Linked DNA regions of Homo sapiens: regions 1, 2, 3 and 5 are each linked to region 4. Evidence: promoter capture Hi-C in 16 types of primary human blood cells and fetal thymus (Javierre and others, 2016). All regions are on one chromosome and are shown on one strand. Each heading gives the region's core, a stretch centred on a gene start or on the middle of the fragment in contact. The rest is flanking DNA. Distances are from core to core; before and after follow the strand shown.

Region 1 (2,716 bases), core at 101-2,600, 1.7 Mb before region 4:
AGCAGTGAGCTGTGATGGTGCCACTGCACTCCAGCCTGGGTGATACAGTGAGACCCTGTCTCAAACAAACAAACAGAAACGATTAACAATAGGATGACTTTAAGTCTCAAACTTTTCCTTGTGTACTTAAAAGTTTAATTTAGTCAAAACTCATATACATGTAATATTTAGCACTAATCACATAATTTAAGGCACATGTTTACTAAAAAAACTCCATACAATTTCAATCAGTTATAATGAGATAAGTGCAACAGAAATGAGTAAATCTTCCTTGGGAAATTTGGCATTTAAACTCTTGCCAGAGACATATACTTCCTAGCTGTTAGCAATCTTAACTCTCTACTATAGAAGAATAAAACTATAGCAAATTGAGTTGTGTTCTAATTTTCCGTAAAAGGAAATTGTTCCATTACCTTATCAATCCAACAGTTGTAAGGAGAAAATTATCTACTTATGAGAACTTTACAGGTGTCAGAAATGTGTATTTACATTTTTTTTTCCAAAACAGAAGGACATTAGCATGGTTTAATATTATTACCTTAATCACAAGCAGGTAAGATAGTTAAAAACAGTGAAAACAAACAGCAAAAATAACAACTGCTGCATGCCAGTATAATATCCTGCTTTTCCACTGACACTTTTATTTTCATCTCCCTCTCTAAGGATTTCTTTATTCATAAGGAGAATGACTATACCGTCAATTGATTTTATATTATGAGAGTTGTTGGAATAATACGATCTCCTTGTAATACTTTGTCAGAAAACACACTGAAGTTAAGGAAACAACCCAGGATCTTGAAACAAACTCCTGCCCATGCCTCTGGCTTTATTCAACCTAAATGCTAACAATTTTAAAGACTGTAATCTCCAAGAAGACTAGGAATTCACGAAGTTGGCTGTATCTTCTATGCCCAAAACTGTGCTTGGTTCTTAGAACACTCTTAAATATTGTTGAATGAATGAACCATCATCATAAAAGCTACTATTTAGGAACATAAATATATGTCATGTGTGATAATCAAGATGTATTTGAAACTGTCATTTAATATGCCAATTCTAGTCCTGACAGCAATTCTAATCTATGGTTATTACTATTTGTATTGTCTCATTGAGAAAACAAGCTCAGAAATATTACGTAATGTGCCAAGTTCGTACAGGGATACTATTAGGAATTCAAAGCTAGATATATCTAATATCAGTGCTTCAGCTTTTTTCTCCTATATATGGCCTCAAAAAGGGTATTATGTATGAAAATGGAAAACTCAATAGTTTACATTCAGAATCAGGTTCTTTCATGTGGTCAGAGGATATTAACATTACTTTTAAAAACATTGAATCCAGATGTGTTTCTGGAATTGCGAAAACAGATTTTCCCAGTGTGTTGCCTCTGAGAGGTTGGGGACAGCCTTTGATGAATGACAACATTAATAATACTTTTAGGCTATGGTTAAAAAACAACAAATATATGTAAGTATGTATGCATGCATGCATATATGTATATGAGTACATTGTCTTCAATTCTCCTTTGTCACTGCCTAACTTTTCTCAATCTGGCACCTGGGGGAAATAAAAAACTGAGAGAGACACCTTGACTGGATAGCTCCTTTCCACAACCTGTATGGAAAGGAGCTGGGCTGCCTTTTGAGGTGAATGGACAGCTGTAGCCAAAGAGAGCCTAGAATATTTGAAGAAGGCAGTAGAGGGTAGCACCAAAACAACGCTGCAGGAGATGAGAGCATCAAAAAGATTTGTTCACCAGAATTTGCAGTTTCCTGCAACTTTATAAATAATTCACTTGGGTAATGTTTCATCAAGAACTGCACAATTGACCTCAAAGCCTGAGAATCTAATGGGCTTATTTAAAAAATGTCTAAATAGAAGCACATCAAGGCTTTGACCAAATACCCTTCCCTAACCTTGTTATGTTTTCTTCCTTCTTGGAGATAAATCTGTAAAACACAAATGAGTTTGTTGTAATTGCCCACCTAGTGTTTAAAATTACAGCTTCAGAGTCATGCTTAATAGGCAATGTGCACAAAGTATATGAACCCAGCTAATCACACAAGATTTCTATTTTTTTTTTATAGCCAGCAGTTGGATACTGTGCTCATCTCTGGGAAAAAATTCATTGAAGCAGACCTTTATTTTACCTCTTTGCTGACCTATTTTTTTCTGTCCTATGATACAGATATTTTAGTTCATCTGGTCCTGAAGCATGAATTTTGGCCAAAGCCTCTTATTCGGTTGGTGCAAAAGTAATTGCGATTTTTGCTAACTAATTCACTGGTTTATATATATTTTTTTCCTTGACACACATACCTTGCATGCAGTAATTATAAAATTAAATCTTCTGGTCATGAGGTGAAATCAGCAGAAAAATGTTGGATGATTTATAAAACTCTATCACCATTCTCAAGGATAGATCCTAAGTATTTGCCAAAGATGATGGTTCCTTACAGAAGATGAATAAGATTGGCTAAGTGGTACAAGAGTGAGATCTGTGTCAGATGGCCTGGTTTGAACCTATGCCCCACCGTATATGAACTGTGTGACATTGAGCACCTTCCTTAACTTTCTGTACCTCAGTTTCCTTGCTTATTAACTGTGGATAATGATTGTTCAAACCTAGGGAGGTTACTTTGAAGATTAATTCAGTCAAAAAAATGGAAGGCACATAGGGAAAGACTGGGGCATGGGAAGCACTTTAAAATGCTGG
Region 2 (2,700 bases), core at 104-2,603, 1.7 Mb before region 4:
ATCAAATATCTAGTCAGTGTTTAAAGTTTCCTGATTTCTTCACAATGTTTTAAAAGTTGGTTTGAATCAAGATGCAAATGAAATCTACATATTATATTATATTTGTTTGCTAATTTTCTTTTCTCTCATCATTTAAAAAATATTGCATATAACTTATATGCAACAAAGTGGTAAAATGTCCATCTTACATCTCTTTTAATTCCTCCCTTTCTTTCTCTTGCTCTATTCCCTTTTCTCTCTCTCTTTTCCCTTCCCTTCCCTTCTTTCTCTTTCTTTCTTTCTTTCTCTCTCTTTCTTTTTTTCTCTCTCTCTTTCTTTTTCTTTCTCCTCTTTTTTACAACTTACTTGTTTCATGAAATCAAGTTGTCATGTTGAATATCTTGCATTCTGGGTTTTGCTCATCCATCTCTATGATCTCCGTGATATTATGAACACACCCTCCTCAATCCTTATGTTTTTGGTAAGCTCGTTAGATCTAGACTCCAGATTTTAGAGGCCTAATCAAATTCACTCAGTATTTCTGACAAGTTTTCACAGGTGACAGCAAGTTCATTTTACAATTTGCATTGGAGGATTGAAATGCTATATGTTATGGAGGCAAGGTAAGGGCATGTTTTTATTGTTAGCTTTTACATATTTATCATCTGAATCAATAGCTATTGGGTGTATTCTCTCCATTGTTCAAGTTGATTCTGATGACAAAGCAGGCATTCAAAGAGGTCCCTTATTTTCTCTCCAGTCATTCAAGGTCTAGTATTGCACTTCCATTCTTGTCATTAGATTAGGCTACCATTCAGGTGCTGCAGTGGTAGCCTGCTGAGCTTACCAAGATGTGCAGTGGGCCCTGTTGACTATGAGAATCATTTTGGGTAGAAAAGTTTGCCTTCTGGCTATTCTGATTTTACATTTGAGTATCTTTGTATTTTTTCAATTGTGCTGAAACTCCACTGAACTTAACCATTTGTGTTTCCCAAGCTTCTTCTCTAAATGGCATTGTTAGTCACTTAGTTGCCCAAGGAGGAATAAAACATAGGTGACATTCCTGATTCTTTCTTCTCCCCACTTTCTCCAATCTCCAACAAGTCCTGTTGGTTCTTCTCCTTCATCTCCCTCAGGTCCGTCCTCTTCTTTCCATCTCCGCTGATGGAAAGGCCATGAGCATTCCTTTATTGCTTTTCTATACTATTGCAAATGAGCTTAAATTGTTCTCCCCCTCCCGCATCCAGTATTTTCCCCTTTGGATCTATCCTCCTTGCTGCAAATATGATGAGATTTCTAAGGAGTGACTGACCATGTCACTCCTTTGCTTAAAGTTCATAATTGTCTTACAACTGCTCTTGTATTCAAATACAAACTCTTTAACATGAACCACATCCTTTTGTGAAATCGCTTCTGCTTCCCTCCTCAGCCTCTACTGTTGCCATTCTGCCCTCTTTGCATTTATAACCTTAGCCATAACAGATCTTTTTTAGTTCTTGGATACTTTTGTGTACTTGCATGTTCATTTTTTGTGAGTGATGTTCCCTCTGCCTGGAACTCTGCCTCCATCTGCTTTGGTTAGCTAAATGTTCAGTTTCCCAATCCAGAAGTTACTTCTTCTGGGAAGACTTTCCTAGTCCACCATACCTGGATTAGGTACCCCTTATCTTTGCCTCTTAAGATCCTATTTTTCTATATCACAGCACATATAATAATGTATTCTACTTGGTTATTTACCTGTCTTTCCAACTGTAAGCTTTGTGAAGCCAGAAGCTATATCTGTCATCTTCATTATTGTACCTGATTCAGTGCCTGGAACAAATGTAGGTATAGTACTTTATAAATATTTCTTTAGAATGCATTTTTAAAAGTTCTTACTGCAATATTCTGTTTTGGTCATAGATGCTACTGTCTTGAATATACTATTGTATTGTCTCTTAATAGAAGAACTGGAGGGCAGTGATGGTTTGATTGATGCTTTAAATAATAATAATAATGTTATTTTCTAACTTTCACTGAGTGCTAAGCATTTTACATACTAGTTGGATTTCTCACTGAAAGGTGCTCTACTCTTCGCACCTGCGCAAAGATTCTAGCTCTAGGGAACTGAGAAAAACACTTACCAGCAGCAAAGACTCCTGTGGTCTCCTTTTAGTTGGTTCATCCAAGCAGGAGTAAATTGAAGCTGGATGTGACCAGGGTTTAAGGAGCAACCCAGGATTCAGAAAAGTGCTGCAAAATTGATAAATATCCCCAATAGAAAAAGAGCTCTACTAGAAGGCAACTGTACTGTGAGACCGACAAGGTTGCCTTCTTAATTTTCTTACTGCCAAAGTATTCCATTTCCTCTTCTCTTCCCATAAATGTTAATTATCATTTCTTAATGCCAGAGGCAGCATAACATAGTGGTTAAGAGCCTGGATTTTGGTGCCCAGGCAGCTTGAGGTTGAATCTCAACTTTGCTACCACCAGATACATGATCATTAGCAAATTGCTTCCGTGCCTCAGTTTCCTCAACTGTAAAATGGAAAGGATAACAATAGTACTTGCCACATAGAGTTGTTATGATAATTAAATGGGTTGATATATAGAAAGTGCTTAAAACAGTGCCAGACACCCAGTCAGTGCAATAGAAGCCTTAGTAAATATGAGGACCTCTGGGAATACTGGCATGGATAAGACATAAGTGCTTCCTTTAAATAACATATATGATTCTTTCTA
Region 3 (2,700 bases), core at 191-2,690, 1.7 Mb before region 4:
TTTGCGGCAGTGCTTCTGCATGGAGCTGCGTATTTCCATTTTTTTTTTTTTCAGCAGTACAAATAAACTTTAGGCCTTTTCTGATAACATGTTAAATATAAAGTATTTTTCTTATATGGTCAATACAAGTGAATTTCTTTCACCATTCATGCTGTAAAAGGCAGAATAATTAATAATGAAGGTAAATGTAGAGACAGGCTTGCATTTCTTGAGGCTACAGTGAGAAGGGATCAGTTTCTTATAGGGCTTGGCAGGGTATGTCAAGTTGGTGGACCAAAGGGGGCATCTCATTGCTGACTTTGGGAGCTTAAGACTTCACAAGTGGAAAGAAATTAGTAATTGAAATTGGGACTCAGTTGAGGATGCTGGGTAAGTGAACAGTGTTACTCAGGGTGACTTTCAGTTTCTCTTCTTCAAGGTTTCAGGTTGATGCAAGAGACTGTGATAACACTGCCCCCTTCTGTTACTCTAGATTGTTAATCCTGATGACGTCTCAAGTCGGCTTTGATGATCTTGACATGAATTTTTGATTTCTAAGAAATGCTTACTTAAGGCAGAAGAGAAAGGAAATCATATGTTCAATGTGATACACGATTTCATTCTATCAAGTTCTGCCTTTTTATAGTTTGCTTAATCATTACATTTTGTCATGAGGTTTCACTTAATTGCATTATAATGGGAGATTTTAGACCAGGGAACGAATAAAGCGAAGGATTGTAACAAAATCAATTAATTCATCTATTTATTTGTGTTCTAAGGGGTTACATGATTTCTTCTAGTTCCTAGAGCTTTCCTATTTCTTCCCTTGGAAGTTAAAGCAAGCCACTGGTTGAGGCACTGTGGCTTTTTCATTTATGACAGAACCTTTCAGATTTTAAGAGCAGTTGAAGAGCTGTGAATGCTGGTCCTTCACATATCAAAAACCAGCACCACTTTCTATGAATATCACTATTTTTGAAATGATTTATCTCAGAACTTTTGAATGTCTCTGTAACCATTTTTTTCCCTTTCCTTATCAGCCCATTTGTATGGAACTCTAAAGAAGGTGAGGCCAGATAGCAGAGAGCTTTGAATATACACCAAGGACTTTGGAGTTTATTCTATGAGCAGTGGTGAGCCAATTAAGATATCTGGGCAAATAATGGCATCTTTAGAAAGAGGACACTGTTAGCTTTGTGTCAAATGAACTGAGATGTAAAAACTTGAAAGGAGGAAGAACATTAACAGGTCCATATAGAAATACCACCACCTGTACCCCCAAAATCCTTGCTAGCTTTTCCTCATGTATTCTACTTCACTCTGGTCTGAGACATCATCATATATCACTAAATCCCTGTAAATTCTCCCCACTGATCTCCCTACAACTAATTTTGTTTCCCTGACAATCTGTTATCCCCATATCAGCCAAAGTCACCTTTTAAAAAGTAAGCAAACCAGAACATGTCACTTCTAACTTTAAATTCCCAATGACTTCCCATAACACATAGAATGAAATCTGTGGTTTGGTCCCTGCCTACTTCTCAGACCTGCACTCTCACCCTTGCTCATTGGGATCCAACTTGCTGGCTTTCTTGGTTCCTTGAACAAGCCGAGCTTAGTTTCACCTCAGACAGCTGAGCCTTTGCTGTTTCCATTCCACCTGCCTAGAGCACACTGTTCCCAGCATTTCACATAGCTGGCTCCCCTCCCCAGAGTCTCAGCCTGCAGTATCAATCCTCTTCTCCTTGCCCCAAACAAGATTTTTTAAATATTACCTATTCTATTTTATTCATAGCTCATTTCACTATATGAAATGATCTTGCTCATTTATTTGTTTATTTGTTTATGATCTGTGTGTCTGGCCTATAATGGAAGTTCCATGATGGCAAAGAGCTGGTCTACTTTATTCATTTCTGGATCCCCAACACATAGAGCTTATAGCTTAGTGTTGTGCCTGGCTCATGGCTCCATAATTATTTCTTAGTCAAATTTGGGTAAAAGGCAAAGAACAAAGGTACGACAAATGGAAGCGAAGAGAAGAGATATCTGAAAGAAGTATAGTAGAGAAAGTGGGTAGACTTAATTATTGAGTGTTGGGTGCCAATGGAAAGGGAGGGATCAGATGATGGATTTTCACTTGGACTGAGAAACCTGTGATGCTCTTAACACAGAAGGAGAACTTGGAGAAATGAAAAAGATGAGAGTGGAAAACAGATATTTAGCTTAGGACTCGAGTGTAAGGTGCTGGTAGATCTCTGTAAAAATGCCCAGCAGGTGTATGGAAGTTGAGAAGAAAGCAAGGCCAAGCATTTAGGTGTTACAGTCATTTGCATACAGTGAAGATGGTTCACCGAGACTGAATTAGTCAACAAGGGGGAATATTTAGGAAGAAAGAAGAGAACATTAAAAATGTGCAGACTTTCACTCAGATATCCTTGTATATAAAGCACCATGCTGGGACAAGTGACATCTAACAAATGAGGAACAAGCTCTGGAGCTTATGGGGCCAGAGATGGTGACACTGATAACTTGTCAAGTAGAAAATGTGTTATCCATGCGGGAAACATTACAACACTGCCGTATGGTGCTCTTTGACTTATCCAAACCACCTCTCAGTAGGAGGCTCTGCATCCTCAAGGGAGATTTATATGATTGCTCTGTTTCCTTCCCTTCACATCTGTAAGGGGTCCAGAGTAAGGATTGGTCAATGTTAGTGATGTG
Region 4 (2,700 bases), core at 53-2,552:
GAAAGTGAGTAGCCAGTTTTGTCCATTATCTTTTGACCTCTTGCCCTCTTAGGGGAGGCTTAGCTCCCTTGAACCACCTCTTCACCTCTTTTTTTTTTTTTTTTTTTTTGTCGCCCTGGCTGGAGTGCAGTGGCACGATCTCAGCTCACTCCAGCCTCCGCCTCCCAGGTTCAAGCGATTCTCCTGCCTCAGCCTCCTGAGTAGCTGGGACTTCAGGTGCGCACCACCATGCCCAGCTAATTTTTGTATTTTTAGTAGAAATGAGGTTTCACCATGTTGGTCAGGATGGTCTTGATCTCCTGACCTTGTGATCTGCCCACGTCGGCCTCCCAAAGTGTTGGGATTACAGGCATGAGCCACTGCGCCTGGCCAGCCTCTTAAAGTTATATCACTCCATGACATTGTTAAGAGCACAGCCCACTTGCCTTCTGCTAGCTGTGACTCCCGAGATGAGTTATTTATCCTCTCTGTGTCTCAAGTTCCCTCATCTGCAAGATGAAAGTAAAGAATAGTTTAGTGTCTCCTTGGGTTGTTAAGGGGTTAAAGGGCTAACACAGGTAAGGTATTTAGAACAGTGGTTGACACAGATAAGGACTACCCTGGCATTAAGATTGTTATTATTCACTTAATCGGATACCTTTGTAATTTTACATGAAATGTATTATCGATAAATCAAAAAATAGAAATATAGGCATAATCTGAGGATATGAAAAGACTACAGTGGATAACAGGCAGGAGGAGAGCTTGGAGGCCACTGCTTTTCCTTTTTTGAAAAAGCTTCTCTGTGCTTTGATTTTTCACGTATGTGTATATACGTGACACTAGTTTTTTAATTTAAACAGATTGAGCAAAAAGATCACTAAAGTCCCTCTTATCTCTAAATTCAGAGATTGACTATGATTTTCAAAGAGCAATATTTTCTAGGTGTCCGACTTATCCTTGTTTTCATAGCTTGACCATTTTTACTTTTGACCTTCCCAGGAAATCCTTATGAAGATTTAAAATAAACACAATCACTTTGGTATGTTTATAATGGAGCAGGTTCTGACTCCTTGGATACTACAGAAAACGGGAAAGGTGAAAATATGAACTTTGTAAATACTTGGCCTTAGGGACTGGCTTATATTTTACCTCTTACAATCTTTTCCCAGAAGCAATTCAGTAAACTGAAGGAAAGATCATAAAGTTAACAACTGCAACAACAAAAGCGTGGTAAGTAGGCAGCGCCCTGGCAGTGAAAGCGTTAACAGGGCTGGGTAAGGCGATCCCTTGAAATGAGTAAGACTGAGTGGTTAAAGTTTTCAAAGCGGTTGGCAGCAGCGGCGCTTGGAGGAAAGGAAGCCGGTTGGAGGGCGCAGCGCACCCCTGCTGCGCGGAGGAGGGGGCTGAGCTGAACTCAGCAGAAGTTACATGCACAAGGTTAGTGGCCCCCACACGCCTCCCCAGCCCGCTGCCGCGCTGACATCTTTGGAGAGGAGGCTTAGGAAGGCGAGGCGCCATCGCTCATTCTCGGTCGTGTCTGTCCTGCTTACTAGTCGCTAGTGGGGCCACTGGCCTTCTCGCCAAACCTCTGGGCTCGGTGCTTACCGAAGCCCTGGCACTTGTGAGGGACAGCTGACTTCTTCCAGACTTTTCTAAACTGGAGGCTTCTTTTCATACATCCAAAAGGAAACTTGTTTCTGGAACAAGTACTGTTTTCAGAGTACACACACACACGACCCCTACCTGTATATGCTGCCCCAGTACGGTTTTTACAGGTCGTGACCACAATCCAGAATTCCTATCTGCTTCATTTGAAATTGAGAACAATGTCAAAGTAACTAAACAGGCTGCACTACTTTACCTTGTGGGAGGAACATTGTCTCTGAGCCTAAGGTAATCGGGATGAGGAGAGAAAAAAAAAAAAAGATGAAAAAAGAAAAGAAACAAAGCTTCCAAGCACCCTGACCTGTGGTTAAGGCAAAACAATTTTTGGAAATGGGTTTCTAGTGGAAATTTTTCTTGTACATTGCTAGAATCATGTGGGAAGGTATATTGTGAAGGAAATAATTCTACATCTGCATGAGATTCAGATAAACTTACCCACCTAAACTAATCTGCATGTGGTGCAGATAATAGATACATTTAGATTTAGGGGAAGGAGGAGGAGGAGATAGCTTCACAGAAATTGCGTTCGGAGGGGGCTTTGTTGTAAGAATTGAGACTGTCCAGGAGCTTTCCCCGGGCAGGGGGTAAAGGACCTCTTCCCGCCCTGGCTGGTAGAGAGGGGTTGGGGGGCCACTTCAGCAGGCCAGTTTATCTCCCTGCTTTCCTGTCCACATAGGCAATAAGCAGTCAGTCTTGTGCTGAATGTTCCCTCTGATCCTCACAGCAAGCACGAGTTGAGTCTTATACCTGCTAGCATTGAATCAGAATGAGTCATTTGAAACTTGGGTGCCGGAACAAAGTACTTGCAAACTGCCTTATGAGACACTGCCTCAATGTAGGTGGGATATACCTCTCGGAGCAGTCACATTTTTTTTTCTCTCCTCTCCCTCCTTCAAGCAGGCAAAAATTCTGACGTTCTCAAGAGACCAGCTCTGCCCCCGTGGCTCAACTGACCCTACCATGTGGACGCTGCTCCTCCAGGTGGGAACTGGAGTTTTGAAATAAAATGGATGATTTGACGTTACTTGATCTTCTGGAGTGCCCTGTGTGCTT
Region 5 (2,700 bases), core at 13-2,512, 1.7 Mb before region 4:
AAAGGACTAAAATCTGCAAAAGTCTTGAGGGAGGAAGAAGAATGACATGTCTGAAGAACTCAAAAGGGTCCAGAATGGGAGGAAAGCAGAGGACAAAGAGGAAGTGGGGCTGATGTGGTTTGGATCTGTGTCCCCATCCAAATCTCATGTTCAACTGTAATCCCCAATCTTGGAGGTCAGGTCTGGTGGGAGGTGATTGGATCATGGAGGCTGTTTCTCATGGTTTAACATCATCCCCCTTGGAGCGGTTGTTGCAATAGTGAGTTCTCATGACATCTGGTTGTTTAAAAGTGTGTAGTACTTCCCCCTCCTCTCTCTTCATCCTGCTTTGGCCACGTGAAGTGCTGGCTCCCCCTTCACCTTCTGCCATGACTGTAAATTCCCTGAGGCCTCCCCAGAAGCAAATGCTGCCATGCTTCCTATGAAGCCTGCAGAACCATGGGCCAATTAAACCTTTTTTCTTTATAAATTACCCAGTCTCAGCTATCTCTTTATAGCAATGTAAGAATGGACTAACATGGGGACACAAGATGGCATTGAGATTCAGACACTACAGGGCTTTTTGGGCTATGGTAAGAATTGTGGTCTTTATCCTAAGGACAGTCAGTGAGCACTCTTGAGGTGTACAGGGCAATGATGTTATGAGTAAGGATGCTGCATCACAGAGATCAGCTGATGTTTGGGCAGAGAGTTGGTCTTCATCAAGCTTCATATTAGTCAGCTGAGTCTCCACTTTTCTATCATTATGTTTATAGGGAAGAGTAATTTAATGTGAACTCTTCAATCCAGAGTGGGGCTTGTAAGTTTTTGTTTGGGAGTGCATTATCAAAAAAGCACTGAATATAATTCCAGGTAACATTAAAAAATTATCAGGCTATGTCCATTTGCTCAATAAATGGTGGCTATTTTGCAGAAGCCATTAGGATACAAATAAGGGAAATCTGGCTTTGAGTTACATCTGATAAACATTTATTTAGGGGACAAAATATTGGGAATATCCAAACAATAGAATATCTTGTTTCATTCTGTTTAAAATCTAATAGAATAAAATAATTAATATAGAACTTTTATGGCATGTAATTTTTAAATTAAAGTTTTAAATACTTGTTGTGTGTTAACTTAGGAGAAACTGGATATAGGGTATTGTGTACCCTATCTCCATATCACCTCAAGTAAAACACAACAAATCACCAAATGATAATTTAACATTGACAAGGTACCATCATTGACAAGGTGCCAACATTGACAAGGTACCATAATCATTAAAATCAAGCCTTTATTGATCTCCTTCTCCTCCTCCTCCTTCTTCTTCATCATTGTCATCGTCCTTGTCATCATCGTCTCCCCTTTTCAGGCCCTCTGATTTCTGTGTCATTCCTCCAACTCCCACATCATGTTCTTTCTTGCCTCCTCTAGCCATGGAGAAGATGTATCAGGGAGAGCATGAACTTTGGAGTCAGTTATACATTGGTTTGGCTCTCAGCAACACCTGTCAACAGTGTGATCTTGAGCAAATCATTTAGCCTTTTGCAGTTCATGTTCCTTTTACTGTAAATTCAAGATAATGGCATTTCTCAGGGGTATTGTGAGAATTAACTTAGTTTATTAGGTAAAGCACTTATTCTAGTTTCTGTGGGATTATGTTTTTCAATGATGGTGGTTGCAATAGCTCCCATCCCATACACTCTTTTACATGACCAGCTACCCTAATATTCAAAGATAGGGATTATTTCTTCTCTGTGACTTGTGACTGCTTTGACCACAGAGTATGATGGAAATGATGACTATGACTTCCAAGACTGGGTAATGAAAGACATTGAAGCTTCTGCTTTGTTTACTGAAACACTTCCTCTGGGGGCCCTGAGCTGTCATGTAAGAAATCTGATCACCCTGAGGCAACTCAGGCACACAGAGAGACTACTGGGAGGCTCTGTCAACAGCTTCTGTTGAGATCCCAGCCACCAGCCTGCATTAGCTGCCAGTTGTGTGAGGGGAGAGACCTATAGATGATTTTAGTTCCCAGCAATCAAGTCTTTCCAGCTGTGGCTCCAAACATGGGAGCACAGATAAACTATTCCCACTGTGCTGTCTGAATTTCTGGCCCATAAAATCTGTGAATATGATAAAATAGTTGTTTGAAGCTGGTTGTGGGGTAGGTAAGTGTTGGTAGCAACTGGAACAGTTTTCAATAAATTATAGTAATTAATACCATGATCATGATTATTATTATTACCTACTTTACAGGGTAATTTTTATGTAATACATTACCAGAAAAGTAAACCAACCAATACTGCTGATTATGAACACACTTAAAGCCTAGAAGATGTTGTAGACTATTTCTTAATTTTCCCTCTAAGTCATTGTTTTCAATGGGTGTCCAACGGTGTCTTCTCTCTCAGGACTTCCTCCTACTTCTCTAATTTTCCCACCATCTTGTCTGTCCACTGTTCTTCCCTGCAAGCAACACCTGATGAGCAGGTCCTGGGCTATTTTCCATGCTCAGTGACTCTGACGTTAGGAGGAGGCATGTGATTTCAGATTCTTCATTTATGTCATAAATATTTATTGAGCTTCTTTTATGTAGCACTGGGAATGTGGCAATGACTGAGACAGATAACCTTGCCCTTATGGAGCTTTCTTTCCATTTTGGGGAATTAAACAATGTGTCAGATAAATAATCAAAATATACAGTACGGGAGA

Evidence for each region. Contacts are between HindIII fragments. The CHiCAGO score rates a contact against its expected background, and 5 or more counts as called.
Region 1: a fragment that was not itself captured here is called in contact with the fragment with the promoter of SH3RF2 in region 4 in 2 of 17 cell types (naive B cells and total B cells); the score reaches 5.9 in naive B cells.
Region 2: a contact is called between a fragment that was not itself captured here and the fragment with the promoter of SH3RF2 in region 4, in 3 of 17 cell types (M1 macrophages, naive B cells and M2 macrophages). The highest score is 9.5, in M1 macrophages.
Region 3: a fragment that was not itself captured here is called in contact with the fragment with the promoter of SH3RF2 in region 4 in 2 of 17 cell types (M0 macrophages and M1 macrophages); the score reaches 15.9 in M0 macrophages.
Region 5: a contact is called between a fragment that was not itself captured here and the fragment with the promoter of SH3RF2 in region 4, in 1 of 17 cell types (total B cells). The highest score is 5.7, in total B cells.

What each region holds. Positions count from the first base shown.
Region 1 is chr5:144,264,710-144,267,425 of GRCh38, forward strand. The region is part of intron 3 of KCTD16 (potassium channel tetramerization domain containing 16); the gene reads left to right. Among named protein-coding and RNA genes, the nearest start is that of KCTD16, 95 kb to the left of the region's middle. The HindIII fragment of the contact is 4,011 bases long and covers 1-2,716 here.
Region 2 is chr5:144,213,111-144,215,810 of GRCh38, forward strand. The region is part of intron 3 of KCTD16 (potassium channel tetramerization domain containing 16); the gene reads left to right. Among named protein-coding and RNA genes, the nearest start is that of KCTD16, 44 kb to the left of the region's middle. The HindIII fragment of the contact is 760 bases long and covers 974-1,733 here.
Region 3 is chr5:144,191,785-144,194,484 of GRCh38, forward strand. The region is part of intron 2 of KCTD16 (potassium channel tetramerization domain containing 16); the gene reads left to right. Among named protein-coding and RNA genes, the nearest start is that of KCTD16, 22 kb to the left of the region's middle. The HindIII fragment of the contact is 5,543 bases long and covers 1-2,700 here.
Region 4 is chr5:145,935,276-145,937,975 of GRCh38, forward strand. SH3RF2 (SH3 domain containing ring finger 2) reads left to right here and starts at 1,303. Exons shown (of 10, transcript NM_152550.4): 1 at 1,303-1,419; 2 at 2,548-2,700. The coding sequence starts at 2,654. LOC107986458 (a long non-coding RNA gene) reads right to left here. Exons shown (of 4, transcript XR_001742913.2): 4 at 426-488. RefSeq lists an enhancer at 1,041-1,618. The HindIII fragment of the contact is 1,154 bases long and covers 776-1,929 here.
Region 5 is chr5:144,245,447-144,248,146 of GRCh38, forward strand. All of the region lies in intron 3 of KCTD16 (potassium channel tetramerization domain containing 16), which reads left to right. Among named protein-coding and RNA genes, the nearest start is that of KCTD16, 76 kb to the left of the region's middle. The HindIII fragment of the contact is 1,116 bases long and covers 705-1,820 here.